Regions from separate parts of the Homo sapiens genome. Here region 2 is linked to region 1. Evidence: promoter capture Hi-C in 16 types of primary human blood cells and fetal thymus (Javierre and others, 2016). All regions are on one chromosome and are shown on one strand. The core of a region is centred on a gene start or on the middle of the fragment in contact, and the rest is flanking DNA. Distances in the headings are between cores, read along the strand shown.

The links. The method cuts DNA at HindIII sites, captures the fragments that hold promoters and counts their contacts. A CHiCAGO score of 5 or more calls a contact.
Region 2: a contact is called between a fragment that was not itself captured here and the fragment with the promoter of LINC01605 in region 1, in 1 of 17 cell types (monocytes). The highest score is 5.1, in monocytes.

What each region holds. Positions count from the first base shown.
Region 1 is chr8:37,597,995-37,602,978 of GRCh38, reverse strand. LINC01605 (long intergenic non-protein coding RNA 1605) reads left to right here and starts at 3,140. Exons shown (of 5, transcript NR_170186.1): 1 at 3,140-3,918. It overlaps LOC105379380 (a long non-coding RNA gene), which reads left to right. Exons shown (of 3, transcript XR_949685.3): 3 at 1-72. The HindIII fragment of the contact is 9,185 bases long and covers 2,754-4,984 here.
Region 2 is chr8:37,533,815-37,538,398 of GRCh38, reverse strand. All of the region lies in intron 1 of LINC01605 (long intergenic non-protein coding RNA 1605), which reads left to right. Among named protein-coding and RNA genes, the nearest start is that of LINC01605, 64 kb to the left of the region's middle. The HindIII fragment of the contact is 9,978 bases long and covers 1-4,584 here.

The DNA of each region.
Region 1 (4,984 bases), core at 1,891-4,390:
TGTTTCCCTTCAACCTCACGATTCCCCGAGCCTATGACTGGATTCCTGGCCTGTGGTTTTCAAACTTCAGAGTATAGGCCTTTACTTTTGTTTAATAACATGTAGGTTGTACTAACCAGGTGCCAGGCTGTGGTCTAAGTGCTCACAAACATTAGCTCATGTAATTCTCATCAGAACTCTGTGAGGTAGGTACTCATATTTCCATTTTATAGATGGGAAAACTAAGGTGTAAATAGGGAACTTGTCCAAGAGCTCCCGGCTAGTTAGTCTGACCTGAGTCTGTTTTCTTTTCTTTGTTTTTTTTGAGATGGACTCTTGCTCAGTCACCCAGGCTGGAGTGCAGTGGCAAGATCTCAGCTCACTGCAATCTCCGCCTCTCGGGTTCAAGCGATTCTCCTGTCTCAGTCTCCCGAGTAGCTGGGATTATGGGTGTGCACAACCACGCCCTGCTAATTTTTTGTATTTTTAGTAGAGACAGGGTTTCACCACGTTGGCCAGACTGGTCTTGAACTCCTGACCTCAGGTGATTCGCCCGCCTTCGTCTCCCAAAGAGCTGGGATTATAGGCATCAGCCGCTGTGCCTGGCCCTGTTCTCTTGACTGCTGTGCTACCATGGCATTATCTGGAGGTGCCTCTAGCAGGCCTGGTTGCTGTGCCTTAGTCTGGGCTTGACTAAGGGGAATCTGGCCAAGTGCAACAACAGGCAGGTGATGTGCCCTAGGATGGGCAGGCCTTGCAAGGAGTCCCTTTCTGCAGGTATATCATGGCCCAAAGGTGTGGTGTCACCCAGGCAATGGAGTGAGGGGACATACCCTCCGGATAGGCAGCGGGCTCTCACAGTGATAGAATCTGGATGCTTGAAAGTCTTGGTCAGCAAGCCACCCCACGGCATGTCTGTTATTCACCATGGAACTCCAGGAATTGGGGAATAGGGACGGGCCTCGGTCGATCCCAGGGGATATCGGATTTCACCGAGAAGGGGACTCAGGCCTGGGGTCAAGGTGAGGGCTGCAGCATCAGAACTGGCAGACAATGTCAGAAACATTTAGGAAGAGTGATGGATTCCCAGATCGGGGTTAGGAGCAGCTGCCCCCTCAAACGTTGGGGCCTCAGAGACCAGAATTTAACCCCCAGATCTGCCACTTTTGCTACGTGTGTCACTAGGTCATGTTGGGTAACCTCTGATTCATGGCTTGCTTATCTGTAAAAGGTGGGCGATGATAACTATCTTGCATGATGGTTGCAGGGGGGTCAAATCAGATAATATCTGCTTACCCAGAGCCTTGCAAATAATAGTTGCTTACCAAATGTCCTTGTATTTTGTTGAGTTGCTCTTGCCTTGGGTGGGAACTGACCTTTTAGAGACAGTGGTGGGACGGGGCAGGAGGTGAGTGGGTGGGGAGGGCTGAAGATGGTGAGAGACTGGAAGATTCCCGGGGTTCATCAAGTTAGTCAAGAATGACTTTGGGAGACCCTCCCACCCCCGGGTGCTAACCCCAGAACCAGGCAACTTGGGGGCTGTGGAAACAGAGGCTACTAAGGAAATAGAGACCAAAGAATGACTTAGCATACCTAGGATTTCAAGTTAATGAGTTGAAAATTATACCCAGGGCCAGGGAGCCTCACTGAGAGGTCAACCAAGCTTATCCTTGGCATTTCCTCCCCACCCCGACCTCTGCCTGGGATGTTCTCTGCTGTCATTCTCTGAGTGTATGCGGATACTCTCCTATCTCATCTGCAAAACAAGTGGCTTGGATGGGATGTTGACTAAGACCAACGAGATACCTTCCATGGTCTTAAAGATCAAAGATTTTACTTTTCTGTTAATCTGAGAACTTAGAAGGATCCCCTCCAAGTTAGAGGACTACATTTACAGCAGCTTAGATGAACAGAAAGGACTAGAAGTGAGAGTGATGGTAACAAGGGCAGTCACTTTCCATCTATAGTGCTCTGGAGTTGATGACAGTGCTCCGTGTATTAGGTTTCCTGATTAAAAACTGTTTATTTTGTAGCAGAGGCTACTGAGGGCCGGAGGTTGTTAAATGACTTGCTTGAGGTCACGCAGGTAGTGAGTGATAAAGTCAGCCTCCTAACCAGGGTTTTCCAGTCCTAACTCTGATACAAAGTAACTGTGTGAAGACATTGCCCATATCTAGGCCCCAGTCTCCCAATCTGTGAAATGGGTGGATTGTTCCACTGGCAATAAGATGTGGTGTTTTGTTTTGTTTTGTTTTGTTTTGTTTTGTGACAGGGTCTCTCTCTCTGTTGCCTGGGCTGGAGTCCAGTGGCATGATTCCAGCTCACTGCAGCCTCAAACTCCTGGGCTCAAGCGATCCTCCTGCTGCAGTCTCCTGAGTAGCTGGGACTACAGGTGCACACCACCGTGCCCAGCTAAGTTTTTTTTTTTTAGTTTATATGGGGTCTCACTATGTTGCCCAACCTAGTTTTGAACTCCTGGCCTCAAGCGATCCTGCCTTGGCCTCCCTGAGTGCTGGAGTTACAGATGTGAGCCACCGTGCCCAGCCAGATGTGTGATCTTATGGTTTGCCTTTTGCTCCCACACGTCAGAACTGGTGATCTGCTTGCCCTTGGAATGCCAGGGGCCGACCTGATTTTCAGGAAATGGTCCTTTCCCTGTGGGTGGGGAAGCTTCACTTGGTGCTGTTTGGTAAATAACTGTATTGGTCTCCGGAGGGTTTGAAAATCACATTTCTCCCTCTTATTGCTATGGGCGACTAACACTAGCTAAAGCTTGAAATCAGGCCCCAAAGGGTGGCCTCGCTGATGACTCTGGTTTCTCTTTTCACTGTCTAGGGCCCAGGGAGTTTCTCAGCATTTTTGATTGTGAAGGACTATAGAGGCCTTCCTGTGCCCAGAAAGGCCTTGCTTGGTGGGTGTTTAGTCCAAGCCCTTGCCTTCAGGCGGATGGACCAGATGACCTAATAAAGTTTCTAATAAAACCTCCTGGGCAGATCACCAACCTCCTTCCTCTTTAAAGTCTCATTGAGAGAGGAATGTCTACAGCATCCTTGGTAACACATTACAGTGTTTCACAACCCTCCTAGCCAGGAAGCTGTTCTTAATGTTTAACCTTAATCCCTCCCGCTGAAATTTAAGGCCCTTTTCTCTTGTTGAGTGCAAATGGAGAACAGCTGCTCACGCTCGTCGTCTGACATCAGCTATTTCTCAGGATGACCCTGCGAGACAGGCCAGGGTCATTAGACCCAATTTGGTTCTCAGCAAATATGTGTTTATTCCTGCATGCGTGGGCCACAGGCTGGTTTCTTGGGTGCAATGAATAGCTGCAGGTTTATTAGGGTGTCTTTTTAGATGGATGTATGTTTCCCGATGTCTATAGAACACTCCGGACCCCGGAGAGTGAAGACTCTGCCTGTCGGACTTGCTTTGAGAAGATCCTTCTCCACCTCCCCATGGCAGAAGTTGCTTCACAGAGGGGAACAGTTTTATGGATGTGGCTGAGACCTTAAACTTGAGGCAACCCATCTGAGGTGGCATCCAGAGGAGACTGGCTGGCCCCTCCTTCACCTTGGATGTAGTGCTGTTTCTAGGATCTCTTTTCAATCAGCAAAACAGGGGATGTTCCAAGAGGGTGTGGATTCCCTGCCATCCCACATGGTCAAGTGGAGGGGACGGGAAAAAGCTATGAAGGGTTTGTGACCACACAGACTCTCCTGGCCCCCTGTCCTTTTGGAAAGAAGACAGGGATGAAATATAATCAAGCAATTAACCACCCCCATCATCACCAAGAACAACAGTATCAACAAGAAGAACAGGGACAACAAAACCCACGGATGAAACATTCCTTTCTCAGCTCAGATCTTATCTGGTGCGTTCTCTCTCTGCTCTGTCTTGGTGTGTGGTTTAGAGAAACATGGACAACGCTGTTTGGAAGAACAGGTGAGCGAGGGTGGGGAATTTCAGAGGCCTGGGCCCACCGCCTCCACCCCTTCCCCAGTTTAACCTTTGACAGGATCTTCACCTCTCTCTGATCAGCATTGCTTCTTGTTCAAAGGCCTCAGCCACCCAGCTGTGTCCCTTTCCCCAGAAAGCAAGGGCAGATGGCAGTGGGTCTGTTGATGAGAGAACTTTAAGGGCCCAATCAGTCCCTGGGCACCCCCTCCTGGGCTCGTTTTCTCCAGGAGGCTGCATTCTGATCCATAAACCTTCTCCTCGGGGTTTAGGGTCGAGCTGTTCCTGATGTTTATCGGAGACTGGGATCAAAGCTATCCAGGTCATAAATCTCTCTCTGTGGCTGTTGGGCCCCAGGGCAGCTGAAGAGGGTTGACAGCCCTTTGGACCTCAAAGGAAAAAATGTGCTCTACTCCACCCACTCCCAGCTCTGCCAAGAAGCTGTCCTCTGAGAAGCCATGGCTGGGCCGTTCCATTCTGGGGAGCTGCTGAAAAGAGCTGGGAGGCCGAGAAGAACTTGCGTGTGCTGGGGGAGAGGAAGCCTGGCCTTGAGGGAGGGGTGCAGGTGTGGCTCCTCTGTGTGTGGGGGCTGGGGGACCTTGTGTGCCTTTTCCTTGTGGCTGTGAAATGCTTTATGAGTACTTCCATAGGAGGATGGACAGGGAGTCGGGGAGATAAACTCAGCCACAAGGCCCCAGGGCCTCAGGAAACTTGCACCCAACCCTCTCATTTTACAGAAGAAAACTGTGCCTGGAAGGTTGAAGGGTTTGTTCCCAGTCACACAACCAGGGATCCTTAGGACAGCCAGACCAGGAAACCATTTCCAAACTGCCAAGCCATGGCAGAGTATCAAGACCTCAGGAACCATCGAGACACCATGGAAGCATTGGGAAAAGCCTCCTTAGCTTTTGAAGCTCCTCATTGTTCTTGAGTGTGCATGGAGCCCATGACTGCGGGGTTTTGTAGACACCTCAGGGATTACATGACTGGTACCCCTGACAAAGTCAAGGCTGCTGGACAAAATGAGTCCGAGGATTTCAGGGGCAGCTGGGCG
Region 2 (4,584 bases), core at 1,556-4,055, 64 kb after region 1:
ATGAAATCGGTATTTGTTAGTACCTCTCTGCTGCCACCTTACTTTCATGCAAGTCACCACTCTCCCCTCCAGACAACCAGGATTGTTATTATTATTATTATTTGGTTTGTTTATTTTCTGAGACAGAGTCCTCACTCTGTCATCCAGGCTGGAGTGCAGTGGCACGATCTCGGCTCACTGCAGCCTCCGCCTCCTGGGCTCAAGCAATTCTCCTGACTCAGCCTCCCAGGTAGCTGAGATTACAGGCACCAGCCATCACGCCCGGCTAATCGGCTAATTTTTATATTTTTAGTAGAGACGGGGTTTCACCATTTTGGCCAGGCTGGTCTTGGATTCCTGACCACCTGCCTTGGCCTCCCAAAGTGCTGGGATTACAGGCATGAGCCACCGCACCTGGCAGACCATGATTGTTTTTTTTTTTTCAACTTTGGGATCCATTTTATTACTGAAATTTGAAGAATGTAATATAAACACTCAATTTTACTAGCTCCCAATATTCTGATGGTGACCCTAAGTTATTTCTAAATTCTGAGACCATGATTGTTTTTAAAATGCTTCCACTCTTGCACTCTTTCCACTCTCTTCTTCTGGGTGATCTTTTCAAGCCACAAATCTGTTCTCATCATTCTTTGCTGGAAATCCTTTGCTGGTTATCTCTTGAATTTAGGATAAGATAGAAAAGATATCTAACAAGTTCCTCCTCTGCCTCACTTGCTGAGAGTTTCCAACCACATGCGCCTTCTCTCAGTCCTTTGACTAACTTCACTTTCCTGCCTCAGGCCTTTGCAAATGCTGTTCCTGCTGTTCCAAACTGCTTCACCCAAGTCTTTAGTTGGCTAAAGTGGACTCAGCGTCCAGCTCTCAGGTCAAATGTTGCTTCCCCAGAGAAACCTTTTCTTGACACTGGCCCTCTATATAGTCCCTCAATATCCCTCTTACTTTTCCTTCATGCTGCTTATTACAGTTTGTAATTATACCCTGATTTGTTTGGTTGCTATGGAATGTCTCTGTCCCTGATAGATATGTTTGTCTCTAAGGCAGAGCAAATCTGTTGTGTGAAAGGTTGTACCCTATTCCTGCTTTCATCCCTGGTCCCTGACTCAGCCACTGCCCTCACTTCCCCACCCCAGTGCAGTGCCTGCCATAGATTAGATACTCAATCGATGCTTGTTGAATGAATGAGTGATGCCGATTCTTACCTGCTGCAAACATACAAGTGAGGAGCCATAACACTGCAGCATGTTGGATTGGGATGTCTAGGCAGATAACATGGTTTTCAATAGACCTTGGTGTGAGTAGCTTTAATATTTGCTGTAATTTGTGAGTGTCCCTAAGGCTCACGGCATAATTTGCGATTGTGGTGAGGTCTGAGCTTGCACCGCATGTGCTGAGATGCCAGTGTGTGAGGCAGATTCCTGCCTGGTGAGTGAGACAGATTTTCAGTGCTGTAGCTACACCTTAATGTGGCTTTGCTACTCTCTGCTTCTCACATCCTATGGGGATCTTTCTACAGGGAGAGTGCATTCTAGAGCATCTCTGGCAGCTGGTCAAGGCTCTGGGATTGAATACCTCCATGAAATAGAGCTCTCTGCCTCTGAATCAGCCTGGTGGACAGCTCTGGCTGTTCGATAGAGCTTCCTTGAGTTAAAGAGAGATTTAGCTTCCTTAGAACCTTTAACTATTGACTGCCTTCTGTCTTTTGAGGAAACATCAATTTCATTCAAGGGCCATTTACTGAACGCTGGCATTATATATAGCAGGTGACATGCCAGGCACTGGGTGTGGAGCGCTGGGTAAGACACACTTGAAAAGCTCAGCTTAGGGAATACCAATTGCAGGTCACAATGTTCTCACATAATTATCACAACAACTTTGCAATGTGTGTGTTATTAGGCTCGTTTTACAGGTGAGGAAATAAAGTCTTGGAGAGTTCATGTGACTTGTCTGGGATTCCACAGTTTGCATGCAGGGAGACTATAGCTCAATCTTAAATGTTTTGACTCCAGCCTATTGTGCATTTTTTACTTCCCTAAGCTGAAAATATGAAATTTCTGCTTCATGCAGCCCCTAGTATATTTGAGCGTAGCTACTGTACTCCCCAAATCATCTTTTCTCCTGCATAAACTTGATTCCCAAAAGTATGATGATGCCCAGTGGGTCTTCTTTGGACCCAGTCATGTGGAAGTACCCTTCCATGTTGCAGAAGGTCCTGGCTATTATACAACACTCTTCCATTTGCAAACCGGGAGGGCCTCAGCCTTGGGTACAAGATTCAGAAGAGGAATTTGGGGTGGTTATTCTCCATGGGCAATGAAACTGGTGGTGAAGCCTGGGGCCTATTTCTAGGACAATTCAGGAGGTACTTTCCCAACAAGCATCTCAGCAGTGAAACATGAAGGATGTTCAGATTTCTAGGGCTGGATGTCTGACACTCAGGACATCTTCTCTACGACATCCCTGTTAGGGCTTTTGCAGGCATCTGTCTAAATGGGTCACATTACAGGGCACTCACAACCATCTGAGAAATCTCTAATAGACAGATCTATTAGATTTTACTCAACATTTGAGGAAAACAATCCCTGTCATTGTGTAGCTTCTGCTTACTGGTCTTCTTTTCGCTGGGCAACTTAAGCGCAGTGCCTCTCTGACATGGCAGGCTGCCACACATTAAATATGCAGGGAGTCCCAAATGGGGCCCAGACCTGGTTCAGGCAGGTCTGGGCAGGCCTGGTGAACTGCTGCATGGGCCTGTTAGAAGCCTATGTGCACCAGAGATCATGGAGCCTCCTGGGAAGGAGCTCGTCTTGAAGGAAGAAGGAACCAGGCATTAACACCTAACTTGGTCACTGAGCTTTAATTGTGACAGGAAAGGAGAGGTTCTGAGCATGGCCCAGTGTACAGCTCACAGCAGAATCTGTCTCACTACTCAGCCCCCATTGGACTTCGTTAAGAGATCTATGGAGAGCAAAAAAGCTATGCACAAAAATGGAAAGAATGGTTGACACTAACATGTGGTAGTCACTGGGGAACCAGCTCTGGGACTCATCTTGAGACTAACACGAAACGGGGAGAGAGGCTCACTCCTCCACTGCACTGCAGAGCCTGCGGTTCTCTGGTCTTGAGCATCTCTGTGGTGGCAAGGACAGCGATCCCCAGCAAGAGGTAGCAGCGCCCTGTGTCCTGGCAGAGGCCTGGATCAGGCCAATGAGAGTAGAACTATGGGGACCAGAAAACTGCTGTGTGTGTTGAGCACACATGAGGCACCCCCAAGTCACTCTAGAAATACTGGGGGACACTTGCAAACAGGCTGCCGCTCTGAGTGAGCTGGTGAAAGTTAAGTCATTGTTGGCTGGGTGCGGTGGCTCACACCTGTAATCCCAGCACTTTGGGAGGCTGAGGCGGGTGGATTGCCTGAGGTCAGGAGTTCGAGACCAGCCTGGGCAACATGGTGAAACCCTGTCTCTACCAAAAATACCAAAAATTAACCGGGCATGAAGGTATGTGCCTGTGGTCCCAACTACTCGGGAGACTGAGGTAGGAAGATCACTTGAGTCCAGGAGGCAGAGGTTGCAGAGAGCCGAGATTGTGCCACTGCACTCCAGCCTGGGCAACAGAGCAAGGCCCTGTCTCAAAAAAAAAAAAAAAAAAAAAAAAAGAAAGTTACACTAATGGGATCACATGCAAATGGGCTGATTGAAACCCAGAGGACCATCACCATCCCCCGTCCTCTCTTTTCCTGGATGAACATTCCCAGTGTTTTCAATCTCTTTTCTGAACTGACCATTCTGAGCCCTCCACCATTCTTGTTACTCTCTTTTGAAACCATTCCAGGCTGTGAGAGCCAAAGCTGTTTGCTATGAGGGTTTTCAGAAATCTCAGAATTAATCTGGCCTAACATTCTTTTTTAGGCTACATGAAAGAAAGGCCCACAAAGGCTTGAAGAGACTTGTCCCAACTCTATGTCCAGTTAGGAGAAGAGCAAGGACTTCACTCAATACACACGGCCCTGTTTTTTTCTTTTATTCCCATCCAGATTTATTTACCCTTTATTTTTCTGTTGTTGGGTTTGTTTCTGAGCCAGGGGCTTGCAACGTCTGGGCAAATGCAGCCATTATGTTCTCATGGTCAGGCATGGTAGAGTTTTGGACTATCCAGCAGTTGTCAGGTGCATTTGGTTTTAACCCTCTAAGGGCGAGGGAAACAGACACAGCTTTTCACTGACCCTCAGGGACTCTGCATTCTCTCTGCAGAGACCAGCAGGAGGAGCCCCTCAGTGGAAAAAGCATCTCTTTACTTGCAAGGAATAAGGTCACTGCAGGTGCTCTGTGCAGAAGCAGAAAGTGACAGAAGGAAGTATGGTCCAGTGACCCCAAAACAAGTGGGAAAATTGCCCACATGGAATAACTTAGTGCTCAGACAAAAAATCTCCCAAGAAAAACTGACCAGGAAAATGTCCTGCTATCAACTGTGGTTCCAGATGGAGAGCTGGGATGGGTCCTTGTAGCCAGTGGAGTCCCTTTGATGTCAGAGATGAGACGTAAGATTCTACACATCTCTGTCTTTGGCTGGGGCTACACCAAAACC